3 separate regions of the Homo sapiens genome follow, and regions 2 and 3 are each linked to region 1. The links are contacts of gene promoters, found by promoter capture Hi-C in blood cells and fetal thymus (Javierre and others, 2016). All regions are on one chromosome and are shown on one strand. Each heading gives the region's core, a stretch centred on a gene start or on the middle of the fragment in contact. The rest is flanking DNA. Distances are from core to core; before and after follow the strand shown. Region 1 has its middle 33 kb from the start of METTL9. Region 2 holds the start of ERI2 (ERI1 exoribonuclease family member 2). Region 3 holds the start of DCUN1D3 (defective in cullin neddylation 1 domain containing 3).

Evidence for each region. The method cuts DNA at HindIII sites, captures the fragments that hold promoters and counts their contacts. A CHiCAGO score of 5 or more calls a contact.
Region 2: the fragment with the promoter of ERI2 here is called in contact with a fragment that was not itself captured in region 1 in 3 of 17 cell types (naive B cells, naive CD8 T cells and total B cells); the score reaches 6.1 in naive B cells.
Region 3: a contact is called between the fragment with the promoter of DCUN1D3 here and a fragment that was not itself captured in region 1, in 2 of 17 cell types (neutrophils and naive B cells). The highest score is 7.2, in neutrophils.

What each region holds. Positions count from the first base shown.
Region 1 is chr16:21,564,289-21,568,356 of GRCh38, reverse strand. No RefSeq gene overlaps it. Among named protein-coding and RNA genes, the nearest start is that of METTL9, 33 kb to the left of the region's middle. The HindIII fragment of the contact is 1,772 bases long and covers 1,505-3,276 here.
Region 2 is chr16:20,804,092-20,808,159 of GRCh38, reverse strand. ERI2 (ERI1 exoribonuclease family member 2) reads left to right here and starts at 1,688. Exons shown (of 9, transcript NM_001142725.2): 1 at 1,688-1,752. The coding sequence starts at 1,730. It overlaps REXO5 (RNA exonuclease 5), which reads right to left and starts at 1,633. Exons shown (of 20, transcript NM_030941.3): 1 at 1,455-1,633; 2 at 1,069-1,208. The coding sequence starts at 1,206. RefSeq lists enhancers at 829-968, 1,689-1,798, 1,547-2,492. The HindIII fragment of the contact is 22,874 bases long and covers 1-4,068 here.
Region 3 is chr16:20,898,095-20,902,162 of GRCh38, reverse strand. DCUN1D3 (defective in cullin neddylation 1 domain containing 3) reads left to right here and starts at 1,805. Exons shown (of 3, transcript NM_173475.4): 1 at 1,805-1,959. LYRM1 (LYR motif containing 1) reads right to left here and starts at 1,392. Exons shown (of 4, transcript NM_001128302.3): 1 at 1,274-1,392. RefSeq lists enhancers at 415-1,200, 1,201-1,986, 2,196-2,245. The HindIII fragment of the contact is 5,697 bases long and covers 1-2,716 here.

The sequences.
Region 1 (4,068 bases), core at 1,141-3,640:
TGTCCAGTCTGCAGCTTCTTTTTGGTGACATGGGTTATCTAAAATAGCACCTTATTAATTCTACCAATTGAGGAAAGATGTGAAAAAGTCAAACTATATGATAGAAGAAGAGGAGGCAGTTTGTTACATTTTCATACTAGAACCAATGGCTATTACCAGAACCTCTGTATATAACTTATTCATCTAAAAAAAATAGGTCCCATGTGATTATTAATGTGCTAGGCACTGGACTAAATACTGGGTATTCAATGGTAGGTGAAACTGCTAAAGTCTCTATCTTCATGGAGCCTACCTACCTCCTAGTGTGCGAGATAGGTCTTATTTAAATAGTCATAAGTTTGATTTACACATGATTATATAAGATGACTGTAGAAAGTGCTATGATAGAAAAACAAGGTATTAAATGAGAGCTCATTGTTAGAGGGTCTGGCTCATGCTGGGCAAGTGGAGGCCAGAGAATGCTCCCCAGAGGAAATATTTGAGCTGAGTTCTAAAGGACAAGTAGGCATTAACTAGGAGGGTTCTGCCTAGAATCATGTGCAAAACCTCCGGCCACCACTACCTCCTCCTCTAAAAGCCACAGCTGGAGCCAGGCATGGTGGCTTATGCCTGTAATCCCAACATTGTGGGAGCCCAAGGCAGGCAGATTGCTTGAGCCTAGGACTTCAAGACCAGCATGATCAACATGGTGAAACCCCATCTCTACAAAACATACAAAAATTAGCTGGGTGTAGTGGCGCTCAGCTGCAGTCCCAGCTACGCAGGGGGCTGAGGTGGGAGGATTGCTTGAACCTGGGAGGCAGAGGTTGCAGTGAGCCGAGATCATGCCACTACACTCCAGCCTGGGTGACAGAGCAAAACCAGAAGAAGAAGAAGATAAAAGATAAAAGCCATAGCTGGGAATGTCCTTGGTGCTCTGAACTGGATGACATTTGTTAGGCATGGCCATCCCACAGACTCACTGCTCCTCAAGATCACCCTTCAGTTATCCAAGAACTGATGGTTACCTACCCATGCTCTGCTCTTCTGCTGCTACTTTCTGGGCTCTGAGATGACCACAGAGGCCAGGGTCAAATGCTGGGCCACTCACCACATACTGATGATGCTGTCAAAATGTGGTTACCCTTCTGCTCCACCTCAATTATCTGTGGAAAACCTAATTTAAGGGGTATATGGTGTTTTGTCTGCCCGCATTTCTTCCTGTAAGAAACACGCTTTCCCCTCTTCCCTAGTAAACTGTCTCAGTCCTTACGAGTTGGTGGAGCTGGACTGCCTCACTTCCATCCCCAAGGTCAGGTACATGCCCAGATCTGGTCAGAGGACTTCATGTGTCAAGGTACAACTACTGCCTCAGCCATGAGCACTTGACTCATACAGTGCCCATTAGCGTCCACCTGGGGACTTTTTCTGTGCTACTGGAACAAAAGTGCATGTTTCCTCACCATCTTGGGCTGTTAGCCCTATGTGAACATGGAGGTATCTTGCTGCCATGCGATGAAAAGCTTATACACAACGCAGAGGGTAAGTCAGAGAAACTAGTTAATGACATAATTTGAGATCCAAATCTGCCTGACTTTTCAGCTACAGAAGCCAATAAATTCCCTTTTTTTTCTTTTTTTCTTTTTTTTTGAGACAGAGTCTCACTGTCGCCCAGGCTGGAGTACAGTGGCGTGATCTTGGCTCACTGCAACTTCCACCTCCCGGGTTCAAGTGATTCTTCTGCCTCAGCCTCCAGAGTAGCTGGGACTACAGGCGTGCACTACCATGCCTGGCTAATTTTTTGTATTTATAGTACAGGCAGGGTTTCACCGTGTTGCCCGGGCTGGTTTAGAACTTCTGACCTTAGGTGATCCACCCGCCTCGGCCTCCCAAAATGCTGGGATTATAGGCATGAGCCACTGTTCCCAGCCCGAATTCCTTTTTTATTTAAGCTAACCTGCATTGAATTTCTGTCACTTGTAGCCAAAGTGGTTTGAATAATGCACCTTTCCAATTGGCACTTGTGCCCAAATTACCATAAACTGGCTGTCTCTGACCACTCTAGGGAAAGGATTCAGTGATTTCTAATTGACCACTACCAGTGAAGACATGGGAGGTTTGAAATAGCTGAGCCCAGATTCTGAGAACGACAGGACAAGGTCATGATTGTACTTTTGAACTTGATGTTGGAGGTGTTCACAAGCATGACGCCTCTCCTGGACTTTGTTTACTGATAGGAACCACAAGATAGACGAGACAGCAGAATTAGGCCAACAATGGGTGCAAGGTGCCAAAAAGGTAATAGAAACCCAAGTTCCACTTTGAAGCAGCATAAATCAGACATTTCTCAAACATTAAAAACGGAAGTGGCCTGATCAAGACCTTTAAACGGAGTAAAAAGCCACGAAGCCAAGGCCTTGAGCAGCTAGTCAGAGAATTATTGCAATATGTGCTCAGAGACACAGGGTTTCATGAAAAGCCCAGTCTCTGCCTGGCTGCAGCACCTCTGTGCTTTTTGTCCCAGCATTTGCTTAGCAGCAGAACCTCATTATCCTTCAGTGTTCTGTAGTTATAACAGATTCCAGCTTCAGGGGGAAAAAAATGGATTCCAGCTGCCAGGGGTTCTCTCTGGGAGATTTTCTATCTCTGAGACGAAATTGTCTTTTTCTCCCTTTTTTCATGGTGAGAGGGGCATGGAGTACACCTCTGATAATCTGCAGAGGCAAAGCCTTGCATGAGCATGCTGACAACCCTGCAGAGAGAAAGCCTTAGGCTGGAAGTTCAAGGGCAGCCAGGAGAATGAACATTTCGATGAATAAAGCAATTTGATAACTACCATGTTGTGGTCTAAGACCCACCACTTACAGGCTTACATGGTGATTACTGAAGCTGCAACTATTTTAATGGCTTCATCTACTTTAAAGTACTGGTGATTTTTCTACTACTTCATTTAATTGCTTGATGTTTCTTGGAAGAGTTCTTCGGTCTTTCTGCTAAAATGTTATCCCAAGCTAGGAGAGATGCCATGATTTCAGAGAATTTCTTTTCCTCTATAATATTATATATTTTCCTCTGGGTTATCAATGAACCTACTGACTACTTTGAGTATTATGCCTTTAGGATGTCTTCACCTCTCATTTCCTTAACATTTTTAAATGAATCTCTGATAGAAAAATGAATCTGAAGCCTTGCTTATGCTTTGATTCATTCAACAAATATTTATTGCACACTTACTGTTTTAGATGCCTGGGATACAGAGTAAATAAATCAACAATGATCCTTGCCTTCAACAAAGCTTACATTCTGGTGGAGGCAAAGAGATAATACATAAATAAATTTAATATCATCTTTTGTAATAATAACCATTACACCTCTGCTTATGAAAAAAATTGCATTCAATTTTTGCTCACAATCTTCTTTTTTTTTTTTTTTTTTTTGAGACAGAGTCTCACTCTGCCACCTAGGCTGGAGTGCAGTGGCATAATCATACTTCACTGCAACCTCTGCCTCCTGGGCTCAAGTGACCCTCCTGCATCAGCCCCACAAGTAGCTGGGACTACAGATGCATGCCACAATGCCCAGCTAATTTTTCTATTTTTTGTAGAGATGGGATTTTGCCATGTTTCCCAGGCTGGTCTTGAACTCCTAGGCTCAAATGATCTGCCTACCTCGGCCTCCCAAAGTGCTGGGATTACAGGCACTGAGCCACTATGCTCAACTAATCTTCTGTTCCCTTCCTTCCTTCCTTTTCCTTCCTTCCTTCCTCTCTCTCTCTTCCTTCCTTCCTCTCTCTCTTCCTTCCTTCCCTTCCTTCCCTTCCCCTCTTCCTTTCTCTCTCTCTCTTTTCTTTCTTTTTTCTGACAGAGTCTTGCTCTGTCACTCAGGCTGGAGTGCAGTGGCACAATCTTGGCTCACTGCAACCTCCACCTCCTGGGTTCAAGTGATTCTCTTACCTCAGCCTCCTGAGTAGTTGGTATTACAGGCACACACCACCACAGCCAGCTACTTTTTTTTTTTTGTATTTTTAGTAGAGACGGGGTCTTGCTATGATGCCCAGGCTGGTCTCAAACTCCTAGACTCAAGTGATCT
Region 2 (4,068 bases), core at 439-2,938, 760 kb after region 1:
GCTGGGGGGATGGTTTCGGGGTGATTCAAGTGCATTACATTTATCATTAGAGTCTCATAAGCAGCATGCCACCTAGGACCCTCGTATGCAAAGTTCACAATAGGGCTCACAATAGGTTTGGCACATTCCTATGAGAATCTAATGCCTAGGTGGAGCTCAGGGGGTAACGTTCTATCGGCCACCGCTCACCTCCTGCTGCTTTGTGGCCCGGTTCCTAACAGGCCAGCTGTGGACAGTGGGTTGGGGACCCCATGGACAGGCAGGTACTAGTCTGTGCACAGGGGGTTGGGGACCCCCGCCCTACTGGAATGTAAACTGCACGAGGGCAAGGAATTGTATTTTTGTGCCCCAGGATATCGATGAACATTCCTATTATGTACAGGCAGTTTTTTTTTTGTTTTGTTTTTTGTTTTTTTTTTTTAAGAGATGGGGTCCTTGCTATATTGCCCAGGCTGGTCTTGAATTCCTGGCCTCAAATGATGCTCCCGCCTTGGCCTCCCAAACTGCTGGGATTACAGGCGTGAGCCACTGCACCCGGCCCACCATCCCAGTTTTTTTTTTTTTTTTTTTTTTTCTGAGACGTGATTTCTTTCTTGTTGTCCAGGGTGGAGTGTAATGGCGTGGTCTTGGCTCATTGCAACCTCTGGTTCCTGGGTTCTAGCGATTCTCCTGCCTCAGCCTCCCAAGTAGGTGGGATTACAGTCACCCACTACCACGCCTGGCTAATTTTGTGTGTGTGTTTTTGGTAGAGACGGGGATTTCTCCATGTTGACAAGGCTGGTCTCGAACTCCTGACCTCGTGATCCGCCCGCCTCGGCCTCCCAAAGTGCTGGAATTACAGGCATGAGCCACCGCACTCGGCCGACTCACTATCCCAGTGACAGCCAATGACAGCCTTGTTGCAGGAAGGTGGTATTACACTCATTCCCATTTTAATGATCAGGGATCAGGTTCGGAGAGGCCAGGGCGGAGAGCCCGCCCGAATCCAGTGCCCCCGACGGCGGTTGGGCGAGGGTCCGGGAGCTCCAAACCGCCTAGGGCCGCCTGCTCGGGATCCCCGTTGCTCACCTTGGCCTCGGGCTGACTCTCCTCGAGATCCCAACCGGCTTTCATCGCCTCAGCTGCCCCGACCAGCTTATTTGGGGCCTGCCTGCTTTCCCTGACCTTCCTGGGGTGTCTCTCGGTCCCTTCCCTCTCTGGCTCCATGGCTGTGGAGAAAGATGAGGTAGAGCTGGGGAAACTCCAGCGCCCCTATTCCCCCGCGTGCCGCCTCCTAGCGGGAGAGCTACACGGGCTTGACAGCTTTCAACCTCCCTCGGATCCGCTTCTCAATTCAGTTTACCGAACTATCCCCGTTCCCCTAAAAAAGCGAAGGTGCCAACGATCTCCCCGTTCCGCGGACTGGACACCCGCGCCGCTCTAACCCAAACGGCTTTACCGTCCGCATCGGTTACCGGATTCTCAACGGTTCCCCAACGGCTACAACGGGCGTCTGCCTGGCAAAGAAGGAAGGTGCTGCCGAGCGGCTTCGCCGCCTAAAACCACTCCCCACGCCCCCTAGCCCGGGAAACGCAGAAGAGAAGACGGGCGGGGAGCAGAGGTTCTCCCCTCCTTAGCCACAGCTGCCAACAACAACCGCCCCTCAGCCTCGCGGGCTTTTTGAACGGACCGGAAGTAGAAGTCGAGCGACTTCCGGCAGCTGGACTTGGAAAAGCAAGGAGTGTCGGGAATGGCGACCAAGCGGCTCGCGCGGTACTCGAGGGAGTTCCGGGTCGGGGGCGGGTAGCTCCGGGTCCAGCGCTGGCGTTGGCCGCAGAGCAGGGCACGGCAGGTGGCATCTGCGGTGAGGGCCTCTATTCCCCGCAGCCCCGGCGTCTGCGACCTGCCCTCTCTGGCACGGTTGGAAAGGCGCCTCCCTGGACCTCGGTCTTCAGCCTTGGGCCACCTTCTACCCGAGGGTGACAGGAGCCCGAGGCGGACGAACCCTGGGGCCTTGACTGTGTGGCCTTGAGCCAGTGCCTGCCTATTTTAGGCCTTGGGAAACGACTGGACGTGACAGTGCCCTGCAGACTGGTTGGAGGTCTCAGGCAGGCCACACACTGAATCTGTCAAGGTGTTCAACCTGTTCGAAATGCTCGTTCCTCGGTGCTGTAAAGAAATAGAACTTAAACTTAAATTTAATTTATTTAGTAAGGCCATTTTTACTTCCTGCAGAAAGGGTACACTCGCCAGCAGTTTTGCCAGGAGAGTACACTGAACAAAGGAGACAGGGTCATTTATAACGTGGCGCGTCCACCCTACTGCTGTGTCCGGTTTCCTTTGGCTGGAACGGGACCTCACATTCTGTATTTGTCCCGACTGACTAGCAACATAGAACTTTTTAAAAGAGGCAAAGGCAGAGGAGAACAAAGGAAGAAGGAAGTAACTTGTGGAATGCTGAGAAAGGTAAAAACACTTTTAAGTAAGGAAGAGGAACAGGCTATGACCTAATGTTTGATTGGACCAGTATAAGCATGCCAGGGCAAATATTTAGGCTAAATTGTGGGAGCTAAGAACATAAAGTACATTGATTTCTTTATTATATCTAGCAGATATTTAAGAATGTTAGCACAGGTCTTTGAATAAATTTTGCTCTAAGAGAAGTTACTATTTATTCCTAATTAGACGGGGAAGGAAGTCTTTGAAGAGGAACCTCTACTTTTTACAAACCCATTTTCTAGTGATCTTTTTTTTTTTTTTTGAGACGGAGTTTTGTTGCCTAGGCTAGAGTGCAGTGGTGCGATCTCGGCTTACCATAACCTCTGCCTCCCGGGTTCAAGTCATTCTCCTGCCTCAGCCTCCCAAGTAGCTGGGATTACAGGCATGCACCACCACACCCAGCTAATTTTGTATTTTTAGTAGAAATGGGGTTTCTCTATGTTGGTCAGACTGTTCTCGAACTCCCGACCTCAGGTGATCCACCCGCCTCAACCTCCCAAAGTGCTGGGGTTACAGGTGTGAGCCACGGTGCCTGGCCTAGTGATCCTTTTAATTCACAATATGAATTATTGTGTCCTCCCTGATTCCTGGATGCGCTGTGCATATTTCTGATTACTAGAAAGATGTAATATAATAGCAAATAGCATGAGCTTCAGAATTGGACAGTCTTGGGTTCACATACCAAAGCTATGTTCTTTGGCAAATTAAGAATCAGTTTTCTCATCCATAAAATATAGGTAGGAAAAGTTTCTAGCTACTACACTTGTTGAGGATTAAAGGAGGCCATCATCTTAGTTTAATTTTAGTACCTGCTATGTAGTAAGCAGTCAATAAATGATATTTATTATTCCCAAATCCTGGCACTTCCCACTCTTAGCAAACACAGAAAACTACAGGAGGTGTCTGCCTAGTTAAAACTCTACCTGCTAATACCAAGTAGTTTGTTTTACTTGCACTTAAGACCTCAGTAAGCTCTTCTCTTTTTTTCTTATTTTATTTTATTTATTTATTTTTTTGAGACAGGGTCTCGCTCTGTTGCCCATGCTGGAGTGCAGTGGCATGATCTCGGCTCACTGCAGTCTCCACCTCCCGGGCTCAAGCAATCCTCCCACCTTAGCCTCCTGAGTAGTTGGGACTACAGGTATGCACCATCACGCCCCAGCTAGGTTTTATAATTTTTGTAGAGACGGGGTTTCACCATGTTGCTCAGGCTGGTCTCGAACTCCGGAGCTCAAGCAATCCACCTGCCTTGGCCTCCCAAAGTGCTGGGATTACAGGCATGAGCCACTTTACCTGGCCCTATCTTTTGTTTCTTTACCCAGATTTTTAAACTGGAAGACTGAACCATGTCCTACATTGTCTTGTCTTCTTAAAACTGCACTGTACACATAGCAAGAGCTTAAAAAATGCAGGGGGAAAAATAAGATTTTCAGTGCATTTTTACCTCTACAATCAAATGATTGTAGGAACTCAAATGAGTTACTCAGTATTACTGTAAAACAAGGGTAACATAAAATTAGTGTAAATTGGCTGGACACAGTGGCTCAGGCCTGTAATCCCAGCACTTTGAGGGGCTGAGGTGGGAGGATT
Region 3 (4,068 bases), core at 556-3,055, 670 kb after region 1:
GAATGGAATTCTCTCCATTTCCACTGTGACTGAGGGCCTTTTCTTTTTTCTTAAGACGGAGTCTCACTCCGTTGCCCAGGCTGGAGTGAAGTGGCGCGATCTTGGCTCACTGCAACCTCCACCTCCCGGGTTCAAGCGATTCTCCTGAGTAGCAGAGATTACAGGCGCGTGCCACTACGCCCAGCTGATTTTTGTATTTTTAGTAGAGATGGGGTTTCACCATGTTGGCCAGGATGATCTCGATCTCCTGACCTCGTGATCCGCCCGCCTAGGCCTCCCAAAGTACTGGGTTTATAGGCGTGAGCCACCGCGCCCGGCCGGCCCTTTCAACACTATCTTCACCTCTCCTTTGTCTTACAGTGCAACAGTCTCCTAACAGGTCTAACTACTTCCACCCTTCTCTATCCAGCAGGCAGAGCGGATTTTTAAAAATGTAAATCAGGTCAGGTCACTTCCCTTCTTAAAACCCTTAAGGTACACATTAGCCAAACCCCTGCCTTGGGCTAAAAGGCGCTGCTACAGTCATGCCACTTCCCCAACTACATCACAGGGCACTCCGGCCCTGGCTCTGTTTGCTTCAGCCACATGGCCTTCTGGCTGTTTCCAACCTAAAAGTCCTTCTCATTGGCTCTTCTCTCCACCCAGAAAACCCATTGTCTCGGATCCCCGCAAAACCGTGGCCTCCTTTGAACGACCTTACCCGATTTCGAGGGGCCCTCCCCCCATCTTCTGTCACCTCATCCGGTCTTTGGGGGGCATTTCTCACTTGCTGATACCTTCTTTATTGATTTACTTAACTCTCTCCTGCACACGAATGGAAGGTAACGGAGCAACACCCTACTCTCAGGTTTGAAGAGCAAGAGAATTACGAAGCTGGCTCTCACGGTCCTAGGGAGTCTCCGTTCCTGTACGGGACCTGGTGTGGGTCAACGTTCCCCAGCCAGACACCTCTCGCCCCCGGACCGGCCCCTACCATCTCCCATTTACATTCGGGGGTCCAAAAGATTCACAGCCTCCGAGGGGGCCCCACGCCGGCACCTGAGCGTCCCCACACCAGGCCTCCCCTCTTGGACGCGCGAGCCACTTCCGTGAGGCAGGTCCCCGAGGCCGGTGGCGATGACACCGAGCCGCCCCCGCGAAGCTGGGGTCACACAGGCCCGTCTCCCGGCAACGCCGCAGCCCAACCTCCAAACCATCCCTGCCCGTGGGGAGCCAACCCCTTCCCCGCCAGTCTCCCGCGCCTGGAGTCGGCGCCTCCATCCCCTACACTCACTCTGCGTCAGTCCTGCCTTCCCCCACCCACAGAAGCGCGCAGCCCGCGGCGGGCTGGGAGGAGGCGGCGCCAGGAGCCCAGCAGAGCCGTGGCCGACCGAGCACAGGCTGGTCCAGTAGGCCAGGCCGGACCAAACCACCGGGCCCACCTCTGTGGGAGCACCAGTTCCAGGTCTGGGGGAGTCTCGACTGACTGACTCTACCCATCTCCCGCCGCATCCAACAATAAGCTGAGCTCCTCCTCCCCCTATTTTTCCTTTACGCTTTCATTATCCTCCCCGCTCCATTCCCGTAAAACAAGAAAAAAAAATGGTCCAGCCCAGCTCCCTCCGGGTTGCTAGGTCTTTGCCCTTACTTGGCGACGGCTTCGTACGTCTTTATGTGCGTCGTGACGCAATCTTCCACTCGTTCCCTCCTTGCCCCTCTCCCATTCTCCCTCCTGGAGCTGGCGGCCGGCGGGGTTACCGGAAGTGATGATGCAGGAGGCGATGGAGGGGGCGGGGCTTCGGGGCGGCCGCCGCCGGTGGGCCGCAGATGAAGAGGAGGCGGTGGCAGTGGTGGAAGAAGAGGCGGCGGCGGCGGGGGTAGGGAGCCTGGAAACGCGAGCGGGGATGGTAGGTGGTTTGGACCCGCCGGGCCGCCGTCGTTTCCAGAAAGGGTTTGACTGGAGGAACCTCTGGAGCAGCTGTGAGTTTTGGGGAGGGGGGGAGTTGAGGAAAAGGCGGGGGGGCATTGAGAGATGAAGGGGCGGGGGTTGGGTACCTTCGAGAAAGGGGGGTGGAAAGGGAGGAGTGGAAGTCAGCGCGTTGTCTGGAGTGGTACCTCTGAAAGAAGAGGCTGTGAGGGGAGCCTGTGGCGTGTCAGCCGCAGGGCTCAGAAAACTTACCTACTGTCCCTGCCTCCCCACCGCCAGCACCCCTCAACCCAGGGCCTGGGGATATGGGGTTGGAGCTGCCCTGGAGGGGGTGCAGACTCTGGTCCTCTGTCCTGGGTGAGCGCTGTGAGGTAGGAGCCCTAGGGGGAGGTGGTGGGTGAATCTCCCAGCTCCCTCCGCCCTCATTTCCCTCCCCACCCCCATCGTTCTCTTTAATCATTAACAGCCCTGGAATTAAGGGGCTCAGACCTGAAGGCCTTTTTGTGCACCTTTGCTATAAACGATAACCATCTGTGTCCGAGGTAATGAGGCTGGAGGCTTTGCCTGTATCCTCTATAGGAAGTGGGACGGGGTGACAAATGTATTGTTTGTTCCTCCACCACACCCCCCGCACTTCTCACCCCTCATCCTCCCCCATGCACACCCCTGGTTTCCACTTTAATTCTCTGTGGCTGAGTGGCAATAGTGGATTTTTTTTTCTTCCCCTTTCCTCCTTTATGGCACTTAGTGCCTTGGTTACCTCTTTTGAATTTGGTGTTCAGCCTCTATCCCAGATCTTAACTGTAAGCTTTGTAATACTTCATACAGGCTGTCACGTTGGGAGTACCTCTTACGCTCCGATTATAATGAGCATTTTCTTTTATGAATACTGGAATTCCAGAGCCTTTGCAAGGAATCCTGAATGGCATCATAGCCCAGGAATCAAGGTCTCTTGCTCGAAATACTTTATGTGTGAGGAATTTACATGTTGTCAGCTCTTCCCAAAATGATTTGCTAGGCTAATTCTGGATTTCTGTGTTTCTCTCCACCCACTTTTCATGATGCACTTCAGAGAACAGAAAACCCCATATTACTTTTTTGTTTCTACAATTGGACAATAGCTCTTTTATGTTTTTCTCCATTTATGTGTGACACACAAATCATCAGTGACACGTTCAGCTTGTGCTGATTTTCATCTTTACGTAGCTGATTCTTTGTGTATGGGGGTCCTAAATGAGACAGTGTGATCTGTTTAGTTTTGGTTTAAGGGCGAATACAAACCAATAACGGATGTGAAAAAATTATTTGAAGCAAAGAATGGAAAGAAGGCCTCTTTGTTGATATGCTGTTGGTTTAAAAAAAATCAAGGAGCACTCTTCTAGCCTCTCAGACAGATATCAGAGTGAAGTGTTATGATTTTCCTTTTGGTGTTGATACATTCTTCGGAAATCTTTTGTAGAATCTGAAACTGTTTTCTGAAGAACTTTAAGAGATAGTGCCTACATTTTCGGAGTCCTTTGATTAGAAAGTGCCCGTAAGTCCTGTCCTTCTGTAACTGAGCTTGATATGCATAGTGCTAGGAAGATCTGATGCTAGGAAGTCCTATTCAGGGCTTTCGGGCCCTAAAAAACAGAATATTTAATGCTTGATTATACCAGTAACAGCGTGTTTAGATGTTTCACAAAAATACAACAGAAGAATGACTACTGTTCTCACTTTAACTGATTTAGAACCTAGTTTGCCATTGACTAAAAAGTTCACAGTTCATTAATTCAACAAACATTTATTGACTCCTAAGTGCTAGCCAGTGTTTCAGGCACTGGGTGTACACAGGTGAACACAAGCAAAAGGTTCACCCTTTCATGGAGCTTACATCGGAGTGGGAGCTGGGGACAGAGAGAGACATAATATATATCCCAGTAAACCAGATTTTGATCAAGCGCTGAAGAAAATAAGAGTGATGTGATTGAAAGTGTCTTAACTGTAGATGCAGTCAAAGAGGATCTTTCTGAGGAAGTGACACTTAAGTTGAGCTTTAAGTATAAAGAAGGAGCCAGCCATCCAAAGAAAAGGGGAAGATCCTTCCAGGTTCAGGGAACAGCTGGTGCAGAAACTGGCTGGAATGCGCTTGTCAAGTTCCAGGGAATGGGAAGAAAGGGTCA